Regions from separate parts of the Homo sapiens genome. Here all the other regions are linked to region 1. Evidence: promoter capture Hi-C in human tissues and cell types (Jung and others, 2019). All regions are on one chromosome and are shown on one strand. The core of a region is centred on a gene start or on the middle of the fragment in contact, and the rest is flanking DNA. Distances in the headings are between cores, read along the strand shown. Region 1 holds the start of MC4R (melanocortin 4 receptor). Region 2 has its middle 90 kb from the start of MC4R. Region 3 has its middle 73 kb from the start of MC4R.

The links. Contacts are between HindIII fragments. The study calls those that stand out against the background at their distance.
Region 2: a contact is called between a fragment that was not itself captured here and the fragment with the promoter of MC4R in region 1, in 2 of the 25 tissues and cell types used here (bladder and thymus).
Region 3: a contact is called between a fragment that was not itself captured here and the fragment with the promoter of MC4R in region 1, in 2 of the 25 tissues and cell types used here (hippocampus and thymus).

Annotation. Positions count from the first base shown.
Region 1 is chr18:60,370,045-60,375,212 of GRCh38, forward strand. MC4R (melanocortin 4 receptor) reads right to left here and starts at 2,731. Exons shown (of 1, transcript NM_005912.3): 1 at 1,018-2,731. The coding sequence starts at 2,305. The coding sequence ends at 1,307. The HindIII fragment of the contact is 8,670 bases long and covers 1,863-5,168 here.
Region 2 is chr18:60,280,532-60,285,699 of GRCh38, forward strand. No RefSeq gene overlaps it. Among named protein-coding and RNA genes, the nearest start is that of MC4R, 90 kb to the right of the region's middle. The HindIII fragment of the contact is 3,254 bases long and covers 1,469-4,722 here.
Region 3 is chr18:60,442,827-60,447,994 of GRCh38, forward strand. No RefSeq gene overlaps it. Among named protein-coding and RNA genes, the nearest start is that of MC4R, 73 kb to the left of the region's middle. The HindIII fragment of the contact is 3,517 bases long and covers 468-3,984 here.

The DNA.
Region 1 (5,168 bases), core at 1,481-3,980:
GTTTACTGGTAATCCTCAACCTAATATATTCTTTTGCTTTATTTTAAATTACACACAGATTAGAAAGTACAGTACAAATTTTATTGCTCAGTGGCCAAATCTGTAGGATTATTTTGGAGCAAAACATTTTACTCTTCAAGAAGTGGCTGTGGAAGGCTAGTTTATTGCATGACATCCTCTGGGGTTTGGTAGGTGCCTCCCTTCCTGCTTAAAATGTACCAGCATCACAGATACCTTTATTTTAGTTATTTACAAATATTGCCAGAAAACACTTCTGCTATGAATTTGGTTTTGAAGTTTAAAATCCTTGATAATCAACATTTGTACTCCAGTTCAAAAAATCAGCAATAAGTAAACAGCAAGTCATTTTCATGTGAAATGAGAAAGAATTCGATGTCAGTCCTGTACTTCTCTAGAAACAGGAAGCTAAATCTCTCAGTACAATATTACCTTTTCTGGACACTTCAGCAGACCCTGAATCCTTGTTTAAAGGGGGCATAAATCCCCATTCTCTGTTTTATTAATATTGTTTAGGGATAATTTGGTAACAGGAAATTTAGCTTGACATGGCAACTTAGGTTTTCCAGGACACTTTCATCCCTATAGCTGCCTTTTCCCACCCACCCCAAACCGAATTGCCTGTGTGAAATATCAGGCTGTTTGCTAAGGGAGATGAATCTTTCTGTGTCTGAGAAGTACACATAGTTTTCTAACTCAGCATCTCTCTTTTTTCAGCACCTGTTTTTCTCTCTAGAGGAGCTTCATTTCTACTTCTGCACAGGGAGGATGAACAAACCTTTAATTAAATTACTTGAAATTTCAGTGATGATATTTTTAAAAATGATTATACATCTATTCTTTAAATATTTTCCCTTAACTGCTAGAATGAACTCTCTACATTTCAATGGTGGATAATATAATATAATAAAGCATTTATTAGAATATGTTTAATGAGGCTCTGATTTCTATGTTACGAAAGCACGCAAAGTGTCCAATGCTTATGAATAACACGAAGGAGACATTGTTAAGCTTTTAATAAGGACTTTTCTTTTTGTAAATCCACAGTGCCTACAACCTATAACATAGATTCATATTTTATGGCCAAAAAAGTAGCATGACATTGGAAATAATACAGAGACTGGGCATTTTTTCTCATTAAAAATCATAGGCTTAAATTTACACAATGGATATTCTCAACCAGTACCCTACACGGAAGAGAAAGCTGTTGCAGAAGTACAATATTCAGGTAGGGTAAGAGTGAAAAAGTCTCTTATGCATGTTCCTATATTGCGTGCTCTGTCCCCATTTAATATCTGCTAGACAAGTCACAAAGGCCTCCCAGGGGATAGCAACAGATGATCTCTTTGAAGGTTTTCCTCAGTTCTTGACTCCGGAGTGCATAAATCAGAGGATCGATGATTGAATTACACATGATCAGTATGAGATACAAGTTAAAGTGAGACATGAAGCACACACAATATGGATTCTGAGGACAAGAGATGTAGAATATTAAGTGGAGGAAGAATGGGGCCCAGCAGACAACAAAGACGCCAATCAGGATGGTCAAGGTAATCGCTCCCTTCATATTGGCACCTTGGCGGATGGCACCAGTGCCGGGGAGGACAGCAATCCTCTTAATGTGAAGCCTGGCCATCAGGAACATGTGGACATAGAGAGAAGCCATGAGAGCCAGCATGGTGAAGAACATGGTGATGAGGCAGATGATGACAGCACTACTATCTGAGTAAATGATGAACAAAATGCCTGAAACCGTGCAAGCTGCCCAGATACAACTTATGATGATCCCAACCCGCTTAACTGTCATAATGTTATGGTACTGGAGAGCATAGAAGATAGTAAAGTACCTGTCCACTGCAATTGAAAGCAGGCTGCAAATGGATGCAAGCAAGGAGCTACAGATCACCGAGTCAATGACATTATCAATATTCACTGTGAAACTCTGTGCATCCGTATCTGTACTGTTTAATAGGGTGATGACAATGGTTTCTGATCCATTTGAAACGCTCACCAGCATATCAGCCACAGCCAAGCTGCAGATGAAAAAGTACATGGGTGAATGCAGATTCTTGTTCTTGGCTATTGCCACAATCACTAAGATATTCTCCAACAAGCTGATGACACCCAGAGTCACAAACACCTCAGGAGAGACAAAAAGTTGCTCGTAGCACCCTCCATCAGAGTAGCCTTTTCCAAGGGACTCACTGGCATTGCTGTGCAGTCTGTAACTGCTGCGGTTCCAGAGGTGCAGAGAAGTGTGCATCCCACGGTGGGTGGAGTTCACCATGCTGGCAGGAGAATTCCAGTGTCCCCCTGAATTGATTTAACCTCCTGGGTCAGGGAGTCGTCTCAGTTATTTCCTCCAAGTCTTTATCTGTCTGAAAGTTGTGAGGCTAAAATTGCCATGCCTGCTGTGAGTAAATGTCACAAGTCCAGAGCTTGACATGGAGTTTTTAGTCTCTTTTAGGTACGACTCTAATCATCATCACTTTAAAATCTTGGGCTTCAAAATATTCATTCTCAGTTGAAAGAGTCTGCTCTTTGCTTTCTTGTTCTCACTTCTGCTTTAACTTTAATCTTATGCATTCAAGTCTGTTCAAAATAATTTTCCTTGAAGCTGCCATGCCATTGGGAGACGAATCTGTGCGCACATGCTCACATCGGCTGCCTCTCGGAAGCTTCTGTTTCCAGCCTGAGCGTTGCTTTGAGTGTTAGGGGCTGTAGGCGCCAGCTGCTGATTTTTATGATGTGTGGAGAGAAAAAAAACATGTTCACGGTGGCTCCTCCTCTGCTTCCTTCTGACCAATCCCAATGCAATGGGAGTCTGTGAGACAGGATTATGTTTCAGAGACACAAATTGCAGGGTGACACAGATTCAGATGCAGAAGCTCCTGAAGTCTGAAGTCGAGAAGCAAGCCGGATAAGAGACTGAATTTCCCTTTTTAAGTTTTCAAGGGAAACAACTTGATCCCTAGAGGCCATTCTGTGATATCAAAACAAGCTATCTTCAGGCAGCCAGGTTCATTCTTATGTAAAAGACATCATGTGTGTGTGTAAAATGAAATGGAAAGTATACTGTCTTATGTTCCTGAAACAGATACTCTGCTTTTTGGCTAGGATACTGAATTTATTTACCTTCTTAATTTTTTGTTTTTATTAAGAACCCAGCCAGTAGTGGTTCAGTTAAAATACCTGAAAAACAGAGAGGATATTTAATGATACAGATAGACATGGTATGGCTGGAAGAACTATGTAGGTAGCTATAAATTATGAATGGGTTCAAAAGGGGTTGATTTTAATGCACTAATATCCCATATTTCTCTATTGAGGAGTTTGTGTTATAGCTGAAAAAAGGTGCTTTTTATTTACAATATTTTAAACTCATACGGCATTAATGTAACTATGCTTACACTGAACTCAGGAAAATAATAAGCTGCATTCTGTTTTTTTTTTTTAAGCAACTTTTTTTTAAACCTCCAGAGTTTAACGTATCGTAAGTTGAACCGACAAATACCTAGTAACTTTACTTATCAAGCCAAGACTGGTGATACTAGTTAGTTATTGAAGTTTCTGAATATTTTGCTTAAGGTGGTTTGAAAGATGGCAGCAAAGTTACTTTCCAAATTAACTGAACAACAGATTATACAAAATTTTGTATATTCTTTTCTTCTATGATTATTTTTGGTTTTAGTGCTCTATAGTTTGTAGCTGCTTATTTCAGGGTTAATTCTGAATCTCAGTTACTTAGGTTGGGAATGTATCCTCTTTCCTTTTGTGACAGAGACAATACTAAGTATTGTTCCTGAGCATTGAGATAAATTAACGTCTTCCATCCACCTTTGGAATTGGGTAGGACCTTATGACTAAATTCTAGCTAATGGCATGTTGACAGTGGGGCTCATCGCATTAGCTCTTTCATAATTTTACACAAGTTTTCTCTCCTGTCTTTGAAATCTCATGTTACAGGTGGCAGGACCATATCATGAAAGGAGCCTGTCTCTTGAATGATTGCACAGAGCAGAACTCACACCTCCAACTCCCTTCCCCTGTATTTCTGAATGCCTAATCATCTGTATATTGTAAAATGCTGGAATGGGCTTTCCTGAACATCATGAGCTGGAAATAATCTTACCTTCCTCTTGCCTTATTTTTTCTCTTTTTAAAAATTGACATATAATTCACATACCAAAAAAAATCACCTCTTTAGTAATTAAATGGATTTTTGGGGGAATATATTCACAGAGTTGTGCCATAATCATCACTTTCTATTTCTAAAACATTTTCATTATCCCATTAGCAGTTGCTCCCCATTTTACCCTTTCCTTATCCTCTAGGAACTGCTAATCTACTTTCTGTCTCTATCAATGTGCCTATTTTAGACATTTTATATGATTGAAATAATGCAATATGTGGCCTTTTGTGGCTCACTGTTTTCATGTAGCATAATATTTTCAAGGTTTGCTTACACTATAATGTGAATCAGAATTTGATTTTTAAAAAATTAAAACAGGATCTTGCTCTGTCACCCAGGCTGGAGTGCAGTGGCATGATCATGGCTCACTAGGTTCAAGTGATCCTCCTACTTCAGCCTCCTGAGTAGCTGGAACTAAATGTACCTCCACACCCAGCTAGCTTTTAAAAAATAATTTTGTAGAGATTGAATCTCATTATGTTGTCCAGGCTGGTCTCAAACTCTTGGGCTCAAACGATATTCCCATCTCGGTTTCTCCAAGTGCTGAGATTACAGGCATGAGCCACTGTGCCCAGTTTTGATTTGTTTTTATGGCTGAGTAATATTCCATTGTATGTATACATTTATATATATATATATTTTTTTTTTTTTTTTTTTTGAGACGGAGTCTCGCTCTGTCACCCAGGCTGGAGTGCAGTGGTGCAATCTCAGCTCACTGCAAGCTCCGCCTCCTGGGTTCACGCCATTCTCCTGCCTCAGCCTCCCAAGTAGCTGGGACTACAGGTGCCCGCCACCGCACCTTGCTAATTTTTTGTATTTTTAGTAGAGACGGGGTTTCACCGTGGTCTCGATCTCCTGACCTCATGATCCGCCCGCCTCGGCCTCCCAAAGTGCTGGGATTACAGGCATGAACCACTGCACCTGGCTGTATACATTATATTTTTAAATGTATTCATCA
Region 2 (5,168 bases), core at 1,846-4,345, 89 kb before region 1:
CTAGGAATGAAACTTTGGGTCATAGAATTCTGGATATTTTCAACTCTAAAACATAATGACAGACTATTTTGCAAAGTGATATAAACATTACACACCCACCTTTAGTGTATGAAAACTCTTGTTCCATCTGTCAACTGATGACGCTTGATATCGTCAGGTTTGTTTTATAAAGAAATTTCAGTGGATGTGTTTAGATATTTCACTGTGCTTTTAATATACTTTTTTGTTCTTTAAGAGGATGAGCACTTTTTATTACATTCAAGAATCAGGTAGACTGTGTTATGAAACGGCAGCTCAAGATTTTGCCTATTTTTCTCCACTTTAATTATATAATTTATGTGCTTTATGATTTAATTTACTCTTCTTTATTTGGGTTTACTTTCCTTTTATTTTTTTCTGATTATAGGTTTTAGTCATATTCTTAAAATTTTTTCAAAATGAAAAAGACATTTTTTTCTAAAATATATGCCTTTGAGGGAATAAATCTCTCTCTAAACCCGGCTTCTTCTTTATCTCACAAGGTTTTACTTGTAGTATTTTAATTATTATTCTGTTGAAAATATCTTTTTCTCACTTATATTATGCTTTCTTTTACTCTTATTTATTATGTTTTTTGTTTGTTTGTTTTAGTTTGCGTTTGTTTGTTTGTTTTGAGACAGAGTCTTGCTCTGTCGCCCAGGCTGGAGTGCAGTGGCGTGACCTCAGCTCACTGCAACCTCTGCCTCCTGGATTCAAGCAATTCTCCTGCCTCAGCCTCCCAAGTATCTGGGATAACACGCATGTGCCACCACATTCAACTAATTTTTGTATTGTTAGTAGAGGCGAGGATTCTCCATTTTGGCCAGGCTGATCTCGAACTCCTGACCTCAGGTGATCCGCCTGCCTCAGCCTCCCAAAGTGCTGGAATTACAGGTGTGAGTCACTGTGCCTGGCCTATTATGTTTTTTATTTCCAAATACATAGGATTTCGCATTATCATTCTCCTTTGTTTATTATAGTTTTGGGACTTAATTCCAACCAGTGTTGTTGGTCTTTCTTTGTTGGATCTTGCTCTACGACCCAGCATATAGTCACTTTGTTCTAAATGTTTTATCTGCACCTGAAACATTGGGTTTTCTGCAGCTGTTAAGTACAGTAAGTAGTCCATACCTGATTATCAGGTCAAGCTTGTTAGTTATTCATATTTTCTACATCTTTACAGTATTTTGTGTTTTCTCAGTGATAAGTATACATTAAAATCTCATATTATTTCTTTATTTACTGCTCATTAAAATTTCTGTAATTTTGCTTTATGTACTTTAAAGTCTTTATTTTTTTTTTTTTTTTGAGACAGAGTTTCACTCTTGTCCCCCAGGCTGGAGTATAGTGATGCGATCTCGGCTCGGCACGGGGGTGCTTGAACTCACCGCCTCCTGAGTTCAAGCAATTCTCCCGCCTCAGCCTCCAGAGTAGCTGGGATTACAGGCGCCCACCACCACACCCGGCTAATTTTTGTATTTTTAGTAGAGACAGTGTTCGCCATGTTGAGCAGGCTGGTCTTGAACTCCTGACCTCAGGTGATCCACCGACCTCAGGTGATCCACCCACCTCGGCCTCCCAAAGTGCTGGGATTACAGGCGTGAGCCACCGTGCCCGGTCACTTTAAAGTCATTTTTAGGTGCATAAAAATTAGAATTTATATATTTTCCCGGTTAATTGAACCTATATCATTTTTAAGTGTTTATCTCCAATAGTACTGTTTGTTTAAAGCCACATTTGTCTGTTTACTAAGCTTCATCATTATTCCTTCAGGCATTTTATTTGGTATTCTCATGAAGTGTCTTTTTCTAGCTGTTTACATTCATTTCTTCTGTTTCACTTTATTTTAGATGTGTCTCTTGTAAACAGCATGTGTGTATGTGTGTGTGGAAAAATATTTTTATCTTTCAACTGCAACACTTAAGTCCATTCATATTCAATGTAATGCCATATGTGGGTTTCAATCTACCATTTTAATATTTTCTATTTGTTACTCTTGTACCGTGTACCATTTTCTCTTTTCTGGACATTTTTGGGTTTATTGAATATTTTTTAAAAATTTCACTTTTCCCCGTTACTTTAAAATATAATTTTTAAAACTATTCTTTTATTCTAAAGCTCTTATTTTGTTTTCTTTAATAATCATGGTCTAAGTTAATTGGTACTTTTGTCTTGATAGACAATGAAAAGACCCAACAACCTGTGAGTTCTATTTATTTTCTCCTATGTGCCATTGTTATTTTATAATGTTACACACATTTCAAATACTCTCAATAATTATTATGATAGCTTGAAACAGTTAGCGTTATTCTAGACTTACCCATGTGCTTCTCTTTTTCTTCTCTGCATTTGTTTTTGCATTCCTAACTTTCAATCTGGGATTACTTTCTTTCTGTCTGAGTTTCTAATTTGAGAAAATGTGTCTGTTTACTAAATTTGAATCCTCAGCATAATCCACTGAAAATATGTTTTGATTGTTTTGTGTTATCAATTGGAGTTAAGGTGGGGAAAAGTGGTCACTACCCTATCAAGCGGGAAGGCAATTCGAATGATTGATGTATGTAAATAAACTGTTTATGTTCAGCATGATCTTAAATGAAAGGCCGTGGGTACCTAGCTGGCATACTAAACATACTAACGTTTTGAGTTTTTATTCACCCCTCTAATCATTATTTTAGTTTTTAGTTTTTCACTTCTCTGCTGAATACTTCTGATTCAAGAGAGTTGCCTGTGAGTTCAAAATGGAAATAATGTTATTATTTTACAAAATTATTTACAAAAATACATGCAATCCTTTTATCAATACTTATATCAACAGAAGCCTCTTAGAGAAAACAATGCAGGAAACCATTGGTTTAAATAACAAAAAGTGACTCTTCATTCTGGTGAAATCCAAAGTCTGTCGAGGGAGTGGGAAGCATGTGCCCAGAAGAGCAAACAATCGATACTGGGTATATTGGGAGCTTTTTGATGGACAGCATTAAGACAATAAATAAAAATTAAAATAAAAGGGCAGCACGAGGGAGTTTTAAGAGCAACAAATCATAATTTTAATCAATAAAAATTGCTCTTGGGAACCTATCTGATTGCTTTTGAAAGTAATTATAGTGCTGCTTCAGCTTGTTCTATGAAATACCTTGGAGGGGTAGCATCTAAATAAACTACCATGATTGGGTTTTTACAAAGCATGCTTACATATAAATTATAAATGCAGTACCATTTGACTTTAAAGTTTTAGAAAAATCTTTCTTCCCACAACCAGCATGCAATCAGCCAATAAAAATGCAAACACACGTCCAGTTATTACAGCAAGTGTAAAAACCTCACTGTTTTTATATTGTAATAAGATCATATACTTGTTATACATTGAAGACTAAAAATGATTTCTAACAGTCATGGTTTATTTCCATAAGGATTTCATTTTATTAGGTATTTCCTAAAACAAAATTATGCCTTGCAATCTGTTTTGCTAGTTTTAAGAAAAATCATGTTTGAATGATTAAAGGAATGAATATTCTGCAAAGTGCATAAAGCTTGCCACTTTGAAGGCTGACTTGATTGATTGTATTTGCAGATGCAGGTTTCCAGAGCCAGACAATATTAGCTATGATGTTCCTTGCATTACCTTACCTAAGATTTTTTACCTTAACGTTTCCATAAATAAATGAACCTACCTTCACAAACCAAATAAAAGCCTCATACATTTGTCATTATTGGCAAAAATAAAGTTGTCATTTTGAATTTAGATACTATAATAGAGGGCGTAATTAATGTCATTCTTTGTGTAGTGCTAGTTCTCTTTTCAAGATAACACGTAGTCAAAGATTTCTATAGCAGCTAACTCTGGAGTCATTATCATTTTGATTTCTTTGTGGTGAGTAAGACTGATTACTTTTATCACCATTTTCAGGATATATTTATATCTTGTACACATCAGATCATCTGATGAAGGACATTCATATCAATGATAATACCTTGTTAATCAGAAGAAGCTAGAATCAATAAATTGAGACTTCCATGTATTTTTTAGAATAAGTAGACTTCTATTAGAATATGACTTTAGAAACTGAATACTAATAACAGAATGCCCAGTTCTTAAAGTCTACTTCAAGGGCACAGGCCTAAGAAGTTGATGTCTCTATCCCTTGAGGACTCAAAGGAAAAACAGCTATATTTTGTAAAGTTCATGTAACATGTCAGTTTTTCAGAAAAATAACCTGTTGCCAGTCAATTTTTTCATTGTATTTATTTAGACTGTAAGTCAGACAGTTCACTATCATGTTTTTTAAGACTGTAAAAGAAAACTGAGATAACATCATATCTCTAATGATTCTCCTATATTAGAAAAGTACATGTTTTTCAAAATCACTGTATTAGAAACCTTCAAATATATTTTTCTCTATTTATAAATTTTATCTACACAGGGAGAAAACTGAAATGGTAGTCAGAAGGATCATAATAGCCATCTGAATATATTTTCCTCACAGGCCCTTTTCGGCCACCATCCTGTCTGGGAAACTTCCAAGACCACAGTGTTTGTTGATTATTCTTTTAGAATATGTATCTTTTACTGTACATGTATCTCAGGTACAGAATCTGAGGATTTTTACCCATAATGCAATCATTTGCATTATGCAAATGATGATCAATGTACACTGAAATATGCTCTAACATTGTTCTTTAAATGGATTCACCTTATTTCTTTAGGCACTGGTTGGAGATTGCTAGGTTATGAATATTTTATGAATAAAGCTAACGGATTAACTTCCATTGTTTACTTCCAGTTTTTCTCAGTCATCCATTCCAATCTAACATTAGTGTTTAGATAGAAAAAAATTTTATCATGACTAAGTTCTGTGTTATATACGTGTTTGTGTATTTTCTTTTTTAGCAATGTTTTAATTAGATAAGAAATGGCTACGATGAAGAAATTCAAGTTGCAGAAGTATAAAAATGTAAAAGTGAAAAAGAAAGGTTATAAAGTGGCTAATTAAACAAAAATTACTAAAAGTATAAGTAGTTAAATTCTTTGAACTCTCTAGTGATACATAAAATGAACATATGTATGTAAATATATATATGCAAAAATATTAGAACAGTTTAGTGTTTATATACAATGATTATACAATATGTAAAATTCTATATTTTTA
Region 3 (5,168 bases), core at 976-3,475, 72 kb after region 1:
GCTTGTGATTTTGCACATTGATTTTGTATACTGAGACTTTGCTGAAGTTGCTTATCAACTTAAGAAGCTTTTGGTCTGAGATGGTGCGGTTTTCTAGATATAGGATCATGTCATCTGCAAACAAAGACAATTCAGCTTCCTCTTATCCTATTTGAATACCTTTATTTCTTTCTTTTGTCTACCTGCCTTGGCCCAAACTTCCAATACTGTGTTGAATAGGAGTGGTAAGAGAGGGCATCCTTGTCTTATGGGGAATGCTTCCAGATTTTGCCCATTCAGTATGATATTGGCTGTGGGTGTTTTTTTGTTTTTGTTTGTTTGTTTTGTTTGTTTGCTTGTTTTGTTTTTTGAGACGGAGTCTCGCTCTTGTTGCCCAGTCTGGAGTGCAATGCAACCTCCACTTCCTGGGTTCAAGCGATTTTTCTGCCTCAGCCTCCAGAGTAGCTGGGATTACAGATGCACGCCACCACGCCCTGCTAATTTTGTTTGTATTTTTAGTAGAGATGGTGTTTCGCCATGTTGGCCAGGCTGGTCTCAAACTCCTAACCTCAGGCAATCCACCCTCCTTGGCCTCCCAAAGTGCTGGGATTACAGGATTGAGCCACCACGCCCGGCCGTTTTTTTTTTTTTAAATTGTTTCTTCAATACCTAGTTTATAGTTAATTGTTTCTTCAATACCTAGTTTATTGTAGTTTTTATCAGGAAGGGATGTTGAATTTTATTGAAGGCCTTTTCTGCATCTATTGAGATAATCATGTGGCTTTTGTCTTTAGTTCTATGTATGTGGTGAATTACATTTGTTGATGTGTATATGTTGAACCGGTTTTGCATCCCAGGGCTGAAGACTACTTGATCCTGGTGGATAAGCTTTTTGATGTGCTGCTGAATTCAGTTTGCCAGTATTTTATTGAGAATTTTTGCATCAATGTTCATCTGGAATATTGGCCTGAAGTTTTCATTTTTGTTGTTGTATCTCTGCTAAGTTTTGGTATCAAAATGATGCTGGCTTCATAAAATGAGTTAGGGAAGAGTCCCTCCTTTTTAATTGTTTGGAATAGTTTGAGTAAAAATGGTTCCAGCTCTTTGTATCTCTGGTAGAATTCAGCTGTAAATCTGTCGGGTCCTGGGCTTTTTTTGGTTGGTAGGCTATTTATTACTGCCTCAATTTCAGAACTTGTTATTGTTCTATTCAGGGATTTAATTTATTCCTGGTTCAGTCTTGGGAGGGTGTATGTGTCCAGGAATTTATCAGTTTCTTCTAGATTTTCTCGTTTATGTACATAGAAGCATTTATAGTATTCTCTAATGGTCATTTGTATTTCTGTGGGGTCATTGGTGATATCCCCCTTATCATTTCTGATTGTGTCTATTTGGTTCTTCTCTTTTTTTCTGATTTATTAGTCTAGCTAGCAATCTATTTTATTTCATTTTTCAAAAAAGACAGCTGCTAGATTTGTTGATTTTTTGAAGACAAAATTTAAAAAATTTTGATGTTTTGGTCTCTACCTCCTTCAGCTCCTCTGTGATCTTGTTTTTTTTTTTTCTTGTCTTCTGCTAGCTTTGGGGCTTGTTTGCTCTTGGTTCTCTAGTTATTTTTGTTGTGATGTTAGGATGTCGAATTGAGATATTTCTAGCTTTTTAATGTGGGCATTTAGCGCTATAAATTTCCGTCTTAACACTGATTTAGCTGCATCCCAGGGAGTCAGGTATATTGTCTCTTTGTTCTCATCAGTTTCAAAGAACTTCTTGATTTCTGCCTTAATTTCATTATTTAACAAGGAGTCATTCAGGAGCAAGTTGTCCATTTTCCATGTAGTTGTGTGGTTTTGAGTGAGTTTGTTAATCTTGAGTTCTAATTTATTGCATTGTAGTCTGAGAGATTGTTATGATTTCAGTTCTTTTGCATTTGCTGAGGAGTGTTTTACTTCTAATTATGTGATCAGTTTTGGAGTAAGTGCCATGTGGCAATGAGAAGAATGTATATCCTGGGTGGAGAGTTCTGTAGATATCTTTCAGGTCTGTTTGATCCAGAGCTGAGTTCAGGTACTGAATATCTTTGTTAATTTTCTCTCTCAATGATCTGTCTAATATTGTCAGTGGGCCGTTAAAGAATTCCACTGTTACATGTAGGAGTCTAAGTCTCTTTGTAGGTGTCTAAGAACTTGCTTTATGAATCTAGGTGCTCCTTGTATTGGGTGCATATTTATCTAGGATAGTTAGCTCTTCTTGTTGATTTGAACCCTTTACCATTATGTAATGCCCTTCTTTGTCTTTTTTGATCTTTGTCGGTTTAAAGTCTGTTTTATGGGAAACTAGGATTATGACCCCTACTTTTTTCTGTTTTCCATTTGCTTGGTAAATTTTCCTCCATTCCTTTATTTTGAGCCTATGTGTGTCTTTTGATGTGAGATGGGTCTTCTGAAGACAGCATTCTAATGGGGCTTGACTCTTTATCCAGTTTGCCATTCTGTGTCTTTTAATCAGGGCATTTAGCCCATTTACATTTAAGGTTATTATTATGTAAGAATTTGATCCTGCCATCATTGTGCTAGCTGGTTAATTTTCAGACTTGTTTATGTGATTACTTCATAGTGTCATTGGTCTGTGTACTTTAGTGTGCTTTTGCAGTGGCTGGTAAGTGTTTTTACTTTCCATATTTTGTGGTTCTTTCAGGAGTTCTTACAAGGCAGGCCTGGTGGTGACATATTCCCTTGGCATTTGTTTATCTGAAAAGGATCTCATTTTTCCTTTGCTTATGAAGCTTAGTTTGGCCAGATATGAAATTCTGGGTTGGGATTTCTTTTTCTGAAGAATGTTGAATACCTAATCTCTTCTGGCTTATAGAGTTTCCACTGAGAGGTCTGCTGTTAGTCTGATGGACTTACCTTTGTAGGAGACCTGGCCTTTTTCTCTGGCTGCCCTTACATTTTTTCTTTCATTTCAACCTTGGAGAATCTGATGATTATATGTCTTGGGGTTGGTCTTCTCATGGAGTATCTTACTGGGGTTCTTTTTATTTCCTGAATTTGAATGTTGGCCTGTGTTGCTAAGTTGGGGTAGTTCTCCTGGATGATATCCTGAAGTATGTTTTCCAACTTGGTTTCATTCCCCCTGTGTTTTTCAGGTACTCCAATCAGTTATATGTTCAGTCTTTTTACATAATCCCATATTTCTCAGAGATTTTGTTCATTCCTCTTCATTCTTTTTTCTCTATTCTTGTCTGCCTGTCTTACTTCAGAAAGATAGTCTTCAGGCTCTGAGATTCTTTCCTCTGCTTGTTCTATTTGGCTATATTGATACTTGTAATTGCATTGTGAAGTTCTCGTGTTGTATTTTTCAGCTCTATCAGGTCAGTTATGTTTCTCTCTTAACTGGCTATTCTGGTTATCAGCTCCTGTAATGTTTTATCATGATTCTTAGCTTCTTTGCATTGGATTAGAACATGCTCCTTTAGTTCAGTGAATTTCATTATTACCCACCTTCGGAAGACTACTTCTGTCGATTTATCCATCTCAGCCTCAGCCCAGTTTTGTGCCCTTGCTGGAAAGATGTTGTGGTCATTTGGAGGAGAAGAGGCACTCCGGCTTTTTGAGTTTTCACTATTTTTGCATTGATTCTTTCTCATCTTTGTAGGCTTAGCTATCTTTGATCTTTGGGGTTGCTGACCTTTGAATGGGGTTTTTGTGGGGTCTTTTCAGTTGATGTTGTTGCTGCTTTCTGTTTTTTTATAATTATTTATTATTATGTTTTTTTAACAGGTCACTCTTCCGTAGGGCTTCTGTAGTTTGCTGTTGGTCACTTCAGACCCTAGTCACCTTGGTCTAGGAAGGTGTGAATCACCAGTGAAGGCTGTGAAACAACGAAGATGGAAGCCTGCTCCTTCCTCTGGGAGCTCTATCCCAAGGGGGCATCAACCTGGTGCCAGCTGGAATGCTCCTGTAAGAGGTGTCTGGAGACCCCTTTTAGGAGGTCTTATAGAGTCAGGAAGAATAGAATCAAGGACTCGCTTAAAGAAGCAGTCTGGCTGCCCCTTGGCAGAGGAGGTGCCCTGCACTGGCTGTCCAGCCTCTCCAGAAACAGCCGCCTAGCAAGACTAAGTCAGCTGAACCACAGAAACAGCAGCTGCCGCTCCCCGCAGGGACTCTATTCCAGGGAGAGATCATAGCTCTGTTCATATAACCCTGGCTGGAGTTGCTGAAATTCCCATAGGGAGGCCCCACCCAGTGAGGAGGGATGGATCAAGTTCCCACTTAAAGAAACAGGCTGGCCACAATCAGGCATAGCAGCTGTGGTAGGTTGTGGGGAATTCCTTTTGGTCCCAGGTGCCTACAGGCTAGAGTGGCTGACTCCAGCTGCCGATATGGTAACTGCCCCTCCTTCCTGGAACTCAGTCCCTCTCAGGCGCTGTCACCAGCCTGCCACTGCTTGCTGGGTAGAATTCTAAGCCAGTGGGTCTTGTGAGGCCCCATGGGAGTGGAGTCCAACAGGAAGATGCCTCCCTGTATTGAGCCCCCTTTTTAGGGGAATGCCTGGGACCTCTTCCTTGCCGGAATTCCCAGGACTGGAGAATGCAAAACTCCTGGATTTTCCTCCATGCCCGAGTGAACAAGCGGCTGCTCCACCAAGACTCCACAAAGCTCTATGCTTTGGACCAAGGCCCTGGTGACCTGGGCTCAGGAGAGGATATCCTGATACACAGGTTGCAAAGATCCATAGGGAAGGCGTGGCTTCCTGGGCAGGGTGGCACAAAGACTCACCACCACCCTTGGCTGTGTGTGGGGACTCCATGGCTTCCTGATGCTCCCAGGTAAGCCATCACCCCACCCTGTTTTTCCTCAGTCTCTGTGGGTCAAGCCGTCTGCCTACTTAGTCCCAGTGTGAGAATCTGGATACCTCAGTCAAAGGTACAGTGTACACTCACTGTTTTGTGAAAGCGGCAGACTACAGCTGCTTCTAATTAGCCATCCCCTCCCCTGTTATATTTTTCTTATTAGGACACCAGTCATGTTGGATGAGGTCCTACTCTAATTGGGTATGACCCTTTCTTAACTTGATTACATCTTTAAAGACCCTATTTCTAAATAAGTTCACTGTGTTAGTATGGGGCTGGGTAATTTATAGAGACAATGTGTTTATTTTCCTCATGGTTCTGTAGAGTATATAGGAAT